Regions from separate parts of the Homo sapiens genome. Here region 2 is linked to region 1. The links are contacts of gene promoters, found by promoter capture Hi-C in human tissues and cell types (Jung and others, 2019). All regions are on one chromosome and are shown on one strand. The core of a region is centred on a gene start or on the middle of the fragment in contact, and the rest is flanking DNA. Distances in the headings are between cores, read along the strand shown.

What was found. Contacts are between HindIII fragments. The study calls those that stand out against the background at their distance.
Region 2: a fragment that was not itself captured here is called in contact with the fragment with the promoter of COG1 in region 1 in 2 of the 25 tissues and cell types used here (aorta and hippocampus).

Annotation. Positions count from the first base shown.
Region 1 is chr17:73,189,677-73,195,405 of GRCh38, reverse strand. COG1 (component of oligomeric golgi complex 1) reads right to left here and starts at 2,351. Exons shown (of 14, transcript NM_018714.3): 1 at 2,022-2,351. The coding sequence starts at 2,336. RefSeq lists a silencer at 1,860-2,069 and enhancers at 2,120-2,399, 3,030-3,079, 2,365-3,124. The HindIII fragment of the contact is 14,916 bases long and covers 1-5,729 here.
Region 2 is chr17:73,347,588-73,353,316 of GRCh38, reverse strand. SDK2 (sidekick cell adhesion molecule 2) reads left to right here. Exons shown (of 45, transcript NM_001144952.2): 41 at 680-844; 42 at 2,527-2,667; 43 at 2,942-3,080; 44 at 4,592-4,718. Among named protein-coding and RNA genes, the nearest start is that of CDC42EP4, 38 kb to the right of the region's middle. RefSeq lists enhancers at 358-857, 858-1,359, 5,146-5,729. The HindIII fragment of the contact is 5,768 bases long and covers 595-5,729 here.

The DNA of each region.
Region 1 (5,729 bases), core at 1,102-3,601:
CCTGTGATCAAGCAATCCACCTGCCTTGGCCTCCCAAAGTGCTGGCATGAGCCACAGCGCCTGACCTGTTATTCTAAATTTTTTTACATTTTTTTCTCGTCAAGTTTCCATGGATTTATTTCCTCGACCAGGTTGTAAGCTCCTTCAGAGCAGGAATTGGGGGACTTCTGTTTCTTTGTAATGTGAACGAAGAAGACACTCAAATTTTTGTAGGGTTAACCGAGAATAAACCAGATATAACAACTATGAAAATCAATACGTTTCTAAAATCAGGCATAATTCAAGTTAGCGTTTTAATAAACCCTGAAGCATGACTCAGTTACAGCAAAGGCTGGCCACCTAAGGGGACACGTGTACTAAATGTTAGCTTTGGGAGGGATGAGGTCACTCATTTCAAAAATATGCAAACTTATTTGCAACTTCCTATAGTTTTATTGTGTCAGTCCAGTCTACTGACCAGGATTTCTGTAAAGCTCAGATAGCATGAACAAGTTCCAAATTGGAGTTAGACTGTACTTTTCAATTTTTTCTTCTATGTCCCAGTAAGTTCTCCCAGGCTGTTAAAAACAACTAACTGTTTACCTTTTTCACCCTTCATGCCCTTTCACTTCGTTCATTGCTAGGTCTATATTCTTTAAGGGGCCGTGCGCGGTGGCTCTCGCGCCTGTAATCCCATCACTTTGGGAGGCCAAGGCAGGCAGATCACATGAGGTCAGGGGTTGGAGACCAGCCGGGCCAATATGGTGAAACCCCGTCTCTACTGAAAGTACAAAAATTAGTCGGACATGGTGGCAGGTGCCTGTAATCCCAGCTACGCGGGTGGCTGAGGCAGGAGAATCGCTTGAACCCGGGAGGCGGAGGTTGCAGTGAGCCGAGATCGCGCCACTGCACTCCAGCCTGGGTGACAGAGCGAGATCCTGTCTCAAAAAATAAAGAAATAAAAATTCTTTTTTTTTTTTTTTTTGAGACAGAGTCTCGCTCTGTGGCCCAGGCTGGAGTGCAGTGGCGCGATCTCGGCTCACTGCAAGCTCCGCCTCCCGGGTTCATGCCATTCTCCTGCCTCAGCCTCCCAGGTAGCTGGGACTACAGGCGCCGGCCACCACGCCTGGCTAATTTTGTGTATTTTTAGTAGAGACGGGGTTTCACCGTGTTAGCCAGGATGGTCTGGATCTCCTGACCTCGTGATCCACCCGCCTCGGCCTCCCAAAGTGCTGGGATTACAGGCGTGAGCCACCGCACCCGGCCAATAAAAATTCTTTAGGAACGCAAGCTGCAGCTCCAATATGAGGATGTGTTTGTTTACCTCCCATCCTTCCTCATTGTGTCTAATCAATAGCGTTTGGGGGGAAGAACACGGGATAAGGAGAACCTGAATGAAAAAAGCCTTAGTTCTGAAAATGAAAATGTTCAGCTATTAAAAGGTAAGGGCTTGGCCGGCTGTGGTGGCTCATGACTGTAATCCCAGCACTTTGGGAGACCCTGTCACATACATACATAAAGTTAAGGGCTTGATAGCTGGTACCCTCAACAACTCCCAAAGGGTAGAACAGCTATTTGGGGTTGTGGAAGTTATTCTTGGGGAGATAAGGGGAAGGTTGGGATGAGGAAGAAATGACTTGGAGTGCAGGTGTCAACATAGGGGAGAAACCTGAGGAAAAACAATGTCAGGACATGTTATATAGGTGAGCGTTGAACTGTCAAGACAGAAACTCCTGGCGTTTTCCGCTAAAATTGAAAGGAGCCCAGTGAGGTGTAGGAATCAAGGCCCGGAAGTCGGGGGAAAGCGCCTGAAGAAACTGTTGAATGGCATTTCCAGAACGGATCAGCAGCCGCATATGTGCAAGGAAGGCTGGCACTGTCCTCTGAGGGGGGCCCAAAGGGTGAGGGGCGGATAGGCTCCTGGCTAAGGAAGGTGAGGACTCGCGGGGTCTGGGACTGACAGAGGGGGGCGGGGTTGACCTGCAAGGCCAGGGGCTCCGGGACCCGCCTGCGGGTCGCAGGGTGGGGGCACGGGGACTGACCTGCTGGGCCCGCGGTGGCCGGGGCGCGGCCGAGCCGGCCTGGCGGAGGCGGGCGCAGTACTGGTCGGTGGCCTTCACGGCGTCCACTAGCCCCACGGCGCAGCGGCGCATCTGGCCGATGGTGTCGGCCGCCTCGATCAGGTCGCGGTACCGTTCGCCCACCATCTGCCGCAGCTCCTCCTTCTTGTGCTCGATCTCGGCCCGAACCTGGCGCTCCAGCCCGCGGATCTCCTCCGCTCCATGCGTCTCGAAAAGAGCCGCAGGGTCGCGCAGATCCAGCCGCTTCAGCGCGGGTGAGGTTGCCGCGGTGGCCATGGTGCACTCGTCAGCCCCCGGCGATCTACCTACGCCCTTTTAGTCCCGCCCCCTCCGCCATCTTCGTTGGGGGCGGAAGCGCTTCCGCCCCGCCGGGGGCCATGTTTGTTACCCGAGGGGGCGGGCGCGAGGGGGCGGGCGCGAGGGGGCGGGCGCGAGGGGGCGGGCGCGAGGGGGCGGGCGCGAGGGGGCGGGCGCGAGGGGGCGGGCGCGAGGGGGCGGGGGCGGGCGCGGGCGCGGGGGCGGGCGCGGTCCTGCGCGGGGTTTTCTTAAACGGAGCCGGCTGGGAAGTGAGGTCGCCAGAGAGGTGAGGTCGCCAGGTTGGCTGCGAAACTGTGGCTGAAGTCTTCCCTTTCCCTTAGGAGCAGAGCTTCTCTGTGGAGTTAGGTGTCGGGATCGGGCCCCGCGGACTGACGGCGTTGGCGCAGGCGCAGCCGCCGCTCTCCGCGCGCCTGGCGCCCGCGAGCAGACTCGGGCGCGCTCGCCGCCGCTGGGTCTCGGATCGCACCCCGCGTGCAGTTTTAGGAAGAGGGACATCCGCGCCCCTCGCTGTTCCCCGGGAAGAGCTACCACGCCGCCCCTGAAGGGGTTCTGAGCGCTTGTTTGGCGTCTGCTTTTCCTCTGCTGTTGATTCGTGTTGGAGGTTTTCCATTTCGTTTAAAACCGATGTTTAGCCCCTGAAGACGTTTTCCCTGCGAGAGCCTGACCTTGGTGGCCATGGGGGAGGAGGGCGGCGGGCTGGGCGGGAGAGGCTGGGACGCCCCGGGGAACGCAGCGCCAGACGGGTGGGCGCTCCTCACGTGGCCCAGGAATAGTAGAATCTGGAGATTGTGGCTTGTTTCTGCTAAGTCCCAGACCCTTCTTTTTTTTTTTTTCTGTTTTAATTTCTTTTGGAAGATTTCACCCACACCAGTGTCGACAAAATGATGCAATGTGCGCAGCGGCCATGCTGAGCCCCCAGCAACTCAGGGCCTACCCTGCATCCCTGCTCATTCCCTCTCCCACCCGCCACCTCCGGACGCACAGAATTTCAATCTGCAAATAAATGGTGCATTTATAATATTCCAGTTTAACCCGCAAGAGCCTTGCGGCGTAGGGAGTATCATTCTCACTTTACAGACTCATTTTACAGATGGGGAAACGGGGGCCCGGAGAGGCAAAGGGTTTTTTACTCAGTAAAAGTGCAGTTTTCAGAGCCTGTCCACGAGATTATCTCATTTTCTCGCACATCGGCCATGCCAGGTAGGTAGGAGTAATATTCCTAGTCCATTTATGAGGAAAAAAAAAAAAGAAACAAAAGCTTATTTACCTGCCCAAATTACATAGCTGATAGGTGACCCAGTGAGTATTTGGACGTCGATTTTTAAATTACTGGCTCGCGCTCTTTTCTACGTTTTCACATAATTTCCCACAGAGCACCCTCTGTTGGCAGGCCTGCAGTTTGCAGTCTCTAATCCCATTCTGCAAGGGACACTTACTGGTATTCGGCTGATAAGCATCCGCAGTATCTCCTTTCTGTGATTGGGGAATTCATCGCTATCTAGCAAAATCTTTTTTTCTGGCGCCCTTTATAGCTACGGTGCCAGCCTGCGGCCTGGGACTGGCACAGCAGGCACAAGCGCCTAGGACTTGGGTGAAGAGTTAGTGACATTAAGAAGCAGGCTGTAATCCCAGCACTTTGGGAGCCCAAGGCGTGTGGATCCCTTGAGCCCAGGAGTTCAAGACCAGCCTGGGCAACACGGCCAAACCCCGTCCTTACAAAAAAATACAAAAAAAGGGGCGCGCGCCGGGTGGCTCATGCCTGTAATCCCAGCACTTTGGGAGGCCGAGGCAGGCGGATCACATGAGGTCAGGAGTTCGAGACCAGCCTGGCCAACATGGTGATACCCTGTCTCTACTAAAAATACAAAAATTAGCTGGGCGTGGTGGCGCACATCTATAATCCCAGCTACTCGGGAGGCTGAGGCAGCAGACAGGAAGCTGAGGCAGGAGAATCACTTGAACCTGGGAGACGGAGGTTGCAGTGAGCCGAGATCGAGACACTGCACTCCAGCCTGAGCGACAGAGTGAGGCTCCGTCTCAAAAAAAAAAAGAAAAAGAAAATTAGCCGGGAGTAGTGGTGTGGGCCTGTGGACCTGTAGTCCCAGCCACTTGACAAGAGGCAAGTGAGGCAAGAGGATCACTTGAGCCTCTGGAGGTCGAGACTGCGTCAGTGAGCCATGATTGGGCCACTGCATTCCAGCCTAGACAACAGAACAAGACCCTGTCTCAAAAAAAAAAAAAAAAAAAAATCGCAGGTGACAGGGGCGATTGCATTTTGGTGGTGGCACAGGTATCACCGGCAACATCCACTCCCTAAGGACAGCAAGGGCAGTGAACTTAGCTCCAGCTCCCAGCTGCTAATGCTGGCGGTGGTGCTGGTGGCAGCCGTGGGCACCCACAATGACGTCCTCGACAGAATCACCATGTGGTGTGCTCGTCTAGGTTTTAAATGTTCTGTTTCCCTTCCTTCCTTCCTGCCTGTCCCCTGAACCTGCCTCCCCATCTTTCCCAGAGATTCTATGAACTGTGCAGTGTCTTACTGATCAATTTTGTTTCTTTGAAAATCAAAATCGGTTTCCCTGGTTTGCCCTAGCCCTAACTGATATACACTGCACTAAGGTTCCAGCTCCATGAGAGTTTGGTTGAAGCCTTTCTTACAGCAAGGGGAGAAATGTCAACATATCAGGGATAGTGGGGGGCCCAGGGCTTTGTATGGGATGGTCCTTGCGCTTGTGCACAATACCTGTAAGCTCAGGTAGAGAAAAGACAAACTGGCCAGCTGTCAACACTGCAGTGTGTGTGTGTGTGTGTGTGTGTGTGTGTGTGTGTGTTCTGAGTCAGGTAGAGAAAAGACAAACTGGCCAGCTGTCAACACTGCAGTGTGTGTGTGTGTCTGTGTGTGTTTGTGTGTGTTCTGAGACAGGGTCTCACTGTTGCCCAGGCTGGAGTGCAGGGGTGCAATCACGGCTCACTGAAGCCTCCACCTCTTGGGCTCAAGCAATCCTCCCACCTCTGCCTCCCTAGTAGCTGGGATTAACAGGTGTGCACCACCATGCCCGGCTAATTTTTTAATTTTTGTGTAAAGACAGGGCCTCACTCTGTTGCCCAGGCTGGTCTCAAACTCTTGGGCTAGAGGGATCCTCCCACCTCAGCCTCCCAAAGTGCTCGGGTTACAGGTGTGAGCCACCTCACCTAGTCCAGAGTGTGGTTTGAAATCAGGGTGTTCCCTGCCTTTCCTCTGTATTTCCCTGGCCAAGTTCATCTGACTGGCCTGAAGATGCCACTGTTGTTCCTCTGCCTGCAGAACTGAGCACTGACAGAAGCTGTCACCTGACTGCCTGGTCACTGGAA
Region 2 (5,729 bases), core at 2,229-4,728, 160 kb before region 1:
AGGCAGTCACTTAAAATCATGTTTCCAACCATTTTTAATGAAGTGGAAGACAGAATCCATAGTGTTCTGCTTGCACAAGTGCTAATTCCTTGAGCCTGTTTCTCTGGACGGTGGTTCTGTCATTGGTTGTGACAGTACTTTCTGCACAGTACGTATCTTTTAATGTAGTACAGATATTTTAATAAAAAGAATAAAAGAGATGCTCCAAAAGGTGTCTTTTTTTTTTGAGACTGAGTCTTGCTCTGCTGCCCAGGCCAGAATGCAGTGGCGTGATCTCAGCTCACTGCAACTTCCATCTCCCAGCTTCAAGCAATTCCCTGCCTCAGCTTCCCCAGTAGCTGGGATTACAGGCATGTGCCACCACACCAGACTAATTTTTGTATTTTTAGTAGAGACAGGGTTTCACCATGTTGGCTAGGCTGGTCTCGAACTCCTAACCTCAGGTGATCCACCCACCTCGGCCTCTCAAAGTGCTGGAATTACAGGCATGAGCCACCGTGCTTGGCCCGAAAGTTGTCTTTTTAAGAAACTTCAAGGGAGGACCAAGGCCTGCGATTCAGTGTGGAGCAGGGAGGATCCAACAGGCCCAGCCCTCAGGGAGCATAGTCAGAACGGGGCTGGGAGCGGGATTTGGGGCTTCCCCTCACCTCCCAGGGCCTCCATCTCTGTGCTCCTGCAGACGAGGGACTATGGGACATCCTCATCAAAGACATCCCCAAGGAGGTGAGCTCCTACACGTTCAGCATGGACATCCTGAAGCCGGGCGTGAGCTATGACTTCCGGGTCATCGCGGTCAACGACTATGGTTTCGGCACCCCCAGCAGCCCCTCCCAGTCTGTGCCAGGTACCGGCCTGGGGGCTGAGGGAGTGGGGGAGCCCCACAGCAGAGCCTGGGGGCTGACACTGGGCAGGGCGGAAGGAGGAGAGGCACCAGGGCACCAGGAGCATGGGGCGGGAACAAAAACACATTGTCCCCTCGGGGCTGTGAAGAGGCAAGTGCTGGTGCCCAGGCCTGGGTCAGCCCTCAAGACCAGAGGAAACTAGGGATCTTCATCTTTGGGGCTCCCTTTCAAGGAACTCCAGAAGCCCTGGGTAGGGGCAGAGCAGAGGGCCCAAGATGCAAACTTCCATGCACTCATCACCCAGGACATTCATGGGCACCAGGCCATAAACTATCTTTCCATGGAAACCTCCAGCCCCAACGTGGCAGGGTCAGCAGCCTGCAGAGCAGCAGAGACACAGGTGGGCCTTAGGCCTGACCTAGTGCCTGGGTGCAGCAGGGTCACCACCCCTCCCATTTTCCTCCCCTCATTCTTCCTATCTGGCATGTCTTGGAGCGCACAAAGGGCTCTGCTATCTAAACCCTTGACCCAAAATGTTATCACTAACCACCCAGAATACAAAGGCCCCTTCCCCCAAGCAGAAGCACAACTCAAAGGAACCCAGCCTCCTCCCCCTGCCACACATTGCCCACATTGAAGAACCAAATCTTCTCCTTTACCCACATTGATAAAACCAAATCCTGGGACAGAAGTGCTTCAAGGCCGAAACAGAGAGCCCATCTCTTGTCCACACAGCATGGGTAGTCCTGGCTGGGTGCAGAAAGCACAGTCTAGGGGTTTTGAGAAAAGGGAGCTCTACCTGGAAGAGACATCCTAAAGACCCTCTCACCACACTCTGGTTTTTCTTCAGATCGTGTAAATCTTTCACCTTTTACTAAAGAACCCCTGTGTCCATCCTCCCAATTCCCCCTGCCTTCTGCTACCAGCAAAAATTTCACTCCAAACTAAACCTCAGGAAAAGCTCTCTCATCCTCCTGCAGGCCAGAGAAGCACCTTTCCCCACACAGATTTAGGTATGCTTATCAAGATAGCTCCTAGACAAGTACAAAAGAAAAAAAGAAAAGGGGCCGGGAACGGTGGCTCACGTCTGTAATCCCAACACTTTGGGAGGCCGAGGCAGGTGGATCACCTGAGGTCAGGAGTTAGAGACCAGCCTGGCCAACATGGTGAAACCCCGTGTCTACTAAAAATACAAAGATTAGCCGGGTGTGGTGGCAGGTACCTGTAATCCCAGTTACTTGGAAGGCTGAGGCAGGAGAATTGCTTGAACCCGGGAAGTGGAGGTTGCAGTGAGTCAAGATCATGCCATTGCACTCCAGCCTGGGAAATAAGAGTGAAACTCCGTCTCAAAAAAAAAAAAAAGGGGAAAAAGTAGCTAACACACTGCCACTCTCCCCTCCTATGTCCCTGGCAGACATCACTAATCAATCTTAGCACTCTTTCCTATTGAGCCAGGTAGCCATCTCAGAACTCATCTGACATCAGCCCTCCAGGCAGCCCTTTACCGACTGATCAGAGCGGATACTTGAGGTGAAACTGTCCTTACAGAGGTTCTGCCTCATTCGGAGGGTACAGACCCTGCCTTCCCATAGATTGTAGCAGTTAGTAGGGTCCCAACTGGAGCAGGAGATTTGGAGGGAGGAGGGGGCTGAGCACCCTATATACCTGACTATCTGTGCTCCAGCCCAGAAAGCCAACCCCTTCTATGAGGAGTGGTGGTTCTTGGTGGTCATTGCCCTGGTCGGCCTCATCTTCATCCTGCTTCTGGTCTTCGTGCTCATCATCCGGGGCCAGAGCAAGAAGTACGCCAAGAAGACAGACTCGGGTGAGTGAGCTGGCACCAGCCATGCTGGCTGGACTTGAGTTTTATGTATCTCCTTTTTGGCCAGAACAGGGGTGATCAGGTCCCTCTCCTGGCTCCTGGCAGCGCACCTGCTCTGGTGGGTGGGGCAGCCTAGGGTTTCTACACACAATCTCAATCTCTTATTTTGGTCTCAACTCTACCAAGAGAAAGAGGGGATAACCCAGCCAGGTGGAGAGTGGTATGGGAGAGGGGAGGCCACACAGTCTAAAGGGTGTCAATCTCCCGCCGACTTCAGGGAACAGTGCCAAGTCTGGAGCCCTAGGCCACAGCGAGATGATGAGCTTGGATGAAAGCAGCTTCCCTGCCCTGGAACTCAACAACAGGCGGCTCTCCGTCAAGAACTCTTTCTGCCGAAAGAACGGCCTGTACACCAGGTACTGGGCCCTCTGCGTGGGTTGGGGGCCAGGCCCAGCAGTGCCCAGGTGGGGAGAATGCTGGGGAAGGCCATAGAGCAGGGAGTGCCCACCTGGCCATACCTTGTCCTGGGAAACACCATTCAAGCCCCAGGGCTGGGAACGATCAGCAGAAAGACACAGTGGGGCCCAAGCAGGACAACTAGGGTCCCAGTCCCCACCATGCCCAATCACAGCCTGGGGGTGAGGGCGCACTGGGGAGAAATTTACAAGGAGGTAGCTACTAAGAGTTCCTGACAGTGACAGTAGAATGCAAATAACTGGCAAAATTTTTCAAACCAACCTACTGATGTTCGGAGCCAACTGCCAGGGAAACAGCCCTGCAGATCGTCACTGGCCCCAAAGGCAAGACAGGCCCAGCCAACGCAGACCGAGCAAAAACACCTTAGCGAAGGACGCCTGAGCACCCGCATTATCGCTATGCCCTCCTGTCTTCCTCCCCATTTGGGAAACCCTCTCCCCCAGGTCCTTATTTATACCTATTAAAGGACAACCTCCTATCCCCATCAGCCTCAAAGGGCAGCATCTGAAAGCAGCCCATGAGGACAGGACAAGGCTCGTGGTGCAAGCACAGCTCCTATTTTCTTCTGACTTCTTTCTAACCCCAGCCCCCTCCTAGGCCCTACTCCCTGTGGCCATCGGGCTGCCCATTTCCAAGGGCAGGAGCAGCTGCTGGGGCCCACCTGACCCTCCCCTGATGTGTGGCGGTTTTCTGTTCCCCTGAGCTCAAGAAAGACTGGGCCAGAGGGCTCCTGTCTCCAGCCTCAGCCCTATTGGCATTCCCAGCTCATTGGAGGCGGCAGTCAGGAGGAGTCCAGCCTCTCTCAGGAGCTCACAAAGCTTCCCTCTGTCTCTGTCTTAGAGGGACGAAGCTATGTGTGTGTTCATCTAGAGGATGGAGGGAGGAGCTCCCAAAGCCGAGCTCTTATCCTCTGCCAAATCCAGCCTTCCAAAGAAAGAGCTGTTTGAGGCCCCCACAGCAGGCCCAGCCAGGCCCAGCATGGCCATAGCAGCCCCGCCAGGCTGGCTCCGGGGCCCTACTACATGTAACAAGGGGGCATTTCACACGTGGCCTCACCTTCCCCTGCCCTTCCCAGCCTCTCCTACCCACAGTGCACACACATCCAGGCCCCTGTGTGCCCCCAAAGCCACTGTGTGTACACAAAAATCCCGTTTGCACCAAAGCAGCCCCAGGATGTGGGGTCCTGAACCCAGCCACGGTGACATCCCCCCTACATTCACCCTGCATGTTGCCATGACAGCATTAGCCGGGCACCCCATTTTTCCCTCTTTGTCCTCCTCCAGATTCCTACCTCCCAGGCCCGGGCCCCTGGAAGGCAGACCCAGGAAGGAGGAGGAGCACAGGGTGGCAGGGATCCGTGTTCCCCAGGCCCCCACTGTGGTCTCCCTAGGCCAGGGGAGGCCGCTCTGAGTGAGTGCACCTCTCGGCCCCACTCCCCCGCTCTCTCCAGGTCTCCCCCCAGGCCCAGCCCAGGCAGCCTGCACTACTCGGATGAGGATGTCACCAAATACAACGACCTCATCCCTGCAGAGAGCAGCAGCCTGACGGAGAAGCCCTCAGAAATCTCCGACTCTCAGGTGAGGGCAGGAGGGCCAGGTGTCCTGCAGGGGGCAGGGAGCAGCGCCTCCCAGAGTGGGGCAGTGAACGTAGATGGGCTTTCTTCCTTTCCTTCAAGGGGCAGCAAATATTAAGGGGCCCAAGAAACCACCCTGAAGTCATATATGGGCCATCTGTCCCCTCCCAAGTTCTGCTCAAAGTTTGCGGCCAGTGCCAATGGGGTCCCGGGAACCTTGATCATAGGGGGTACCCCGAAGAAGACGGCCCTCTCTACGTTCAGGGGTCACCCCACAGGCTTAGTTACTCATTAGGGCTGTCCTGCAAGAGAGCACGCTGAAGGTGCGGAGAGGGAGACTCTGGGGAGAAGGTTGACACACAGCCCTGCATTCCAGGCCAGAGACCTGGAAAAATGCTCAGCTTCACTACTCACGCATCAAAACAGCTTCAGAAACAAAGGGCTGGGTGCCCTGGAGCCCTGAGGATGAGAAGCAGTGTAGACCAGGGAGACATTAAGCTTTGGAGGTTTGGACCTGAGTGTGAATCCTAGCTTTGCTGCTCGTGACCTGGGATGTCCTGGGTGTGCCAAGTAACCTTTCTAAGCCTCAGTTTCCCCATCTGTGGAACAGGCAGGGGTGATACTAGGCTCTGTCCGAGGCTGTGGGGAGGATCTGCTGAGTTAGACACTGGTGAACTCAGTGTAGAGCCAGGCACACGGCAACCATTCCGTAAATGTCAGCTTTTATATGAAGAGGGGGTCGGTGCCTCTGGAAGACACAGAGCTTCAGAGAGCGGCCATTAGGTGGGTCACGTGGGGACACTGTCCCAGGCTGTGTGGGGAAGGGGCTGTGTGTATTCCAACCATGCAGCCTTACAGCTTCCCACCCTCACCCTCTGCCTCAGCCAAGCCCAGTGGTTATTGAGGAAAGGGCCACGAAAGGCCACTGCATCCCACGCCCTGGACCTTTCTGCCCAGGCCTGGGAGAGGAAGTGAAGGAAGAGGTGCCAGCAGGGAGCTGGGCTGCTGGCTGTGC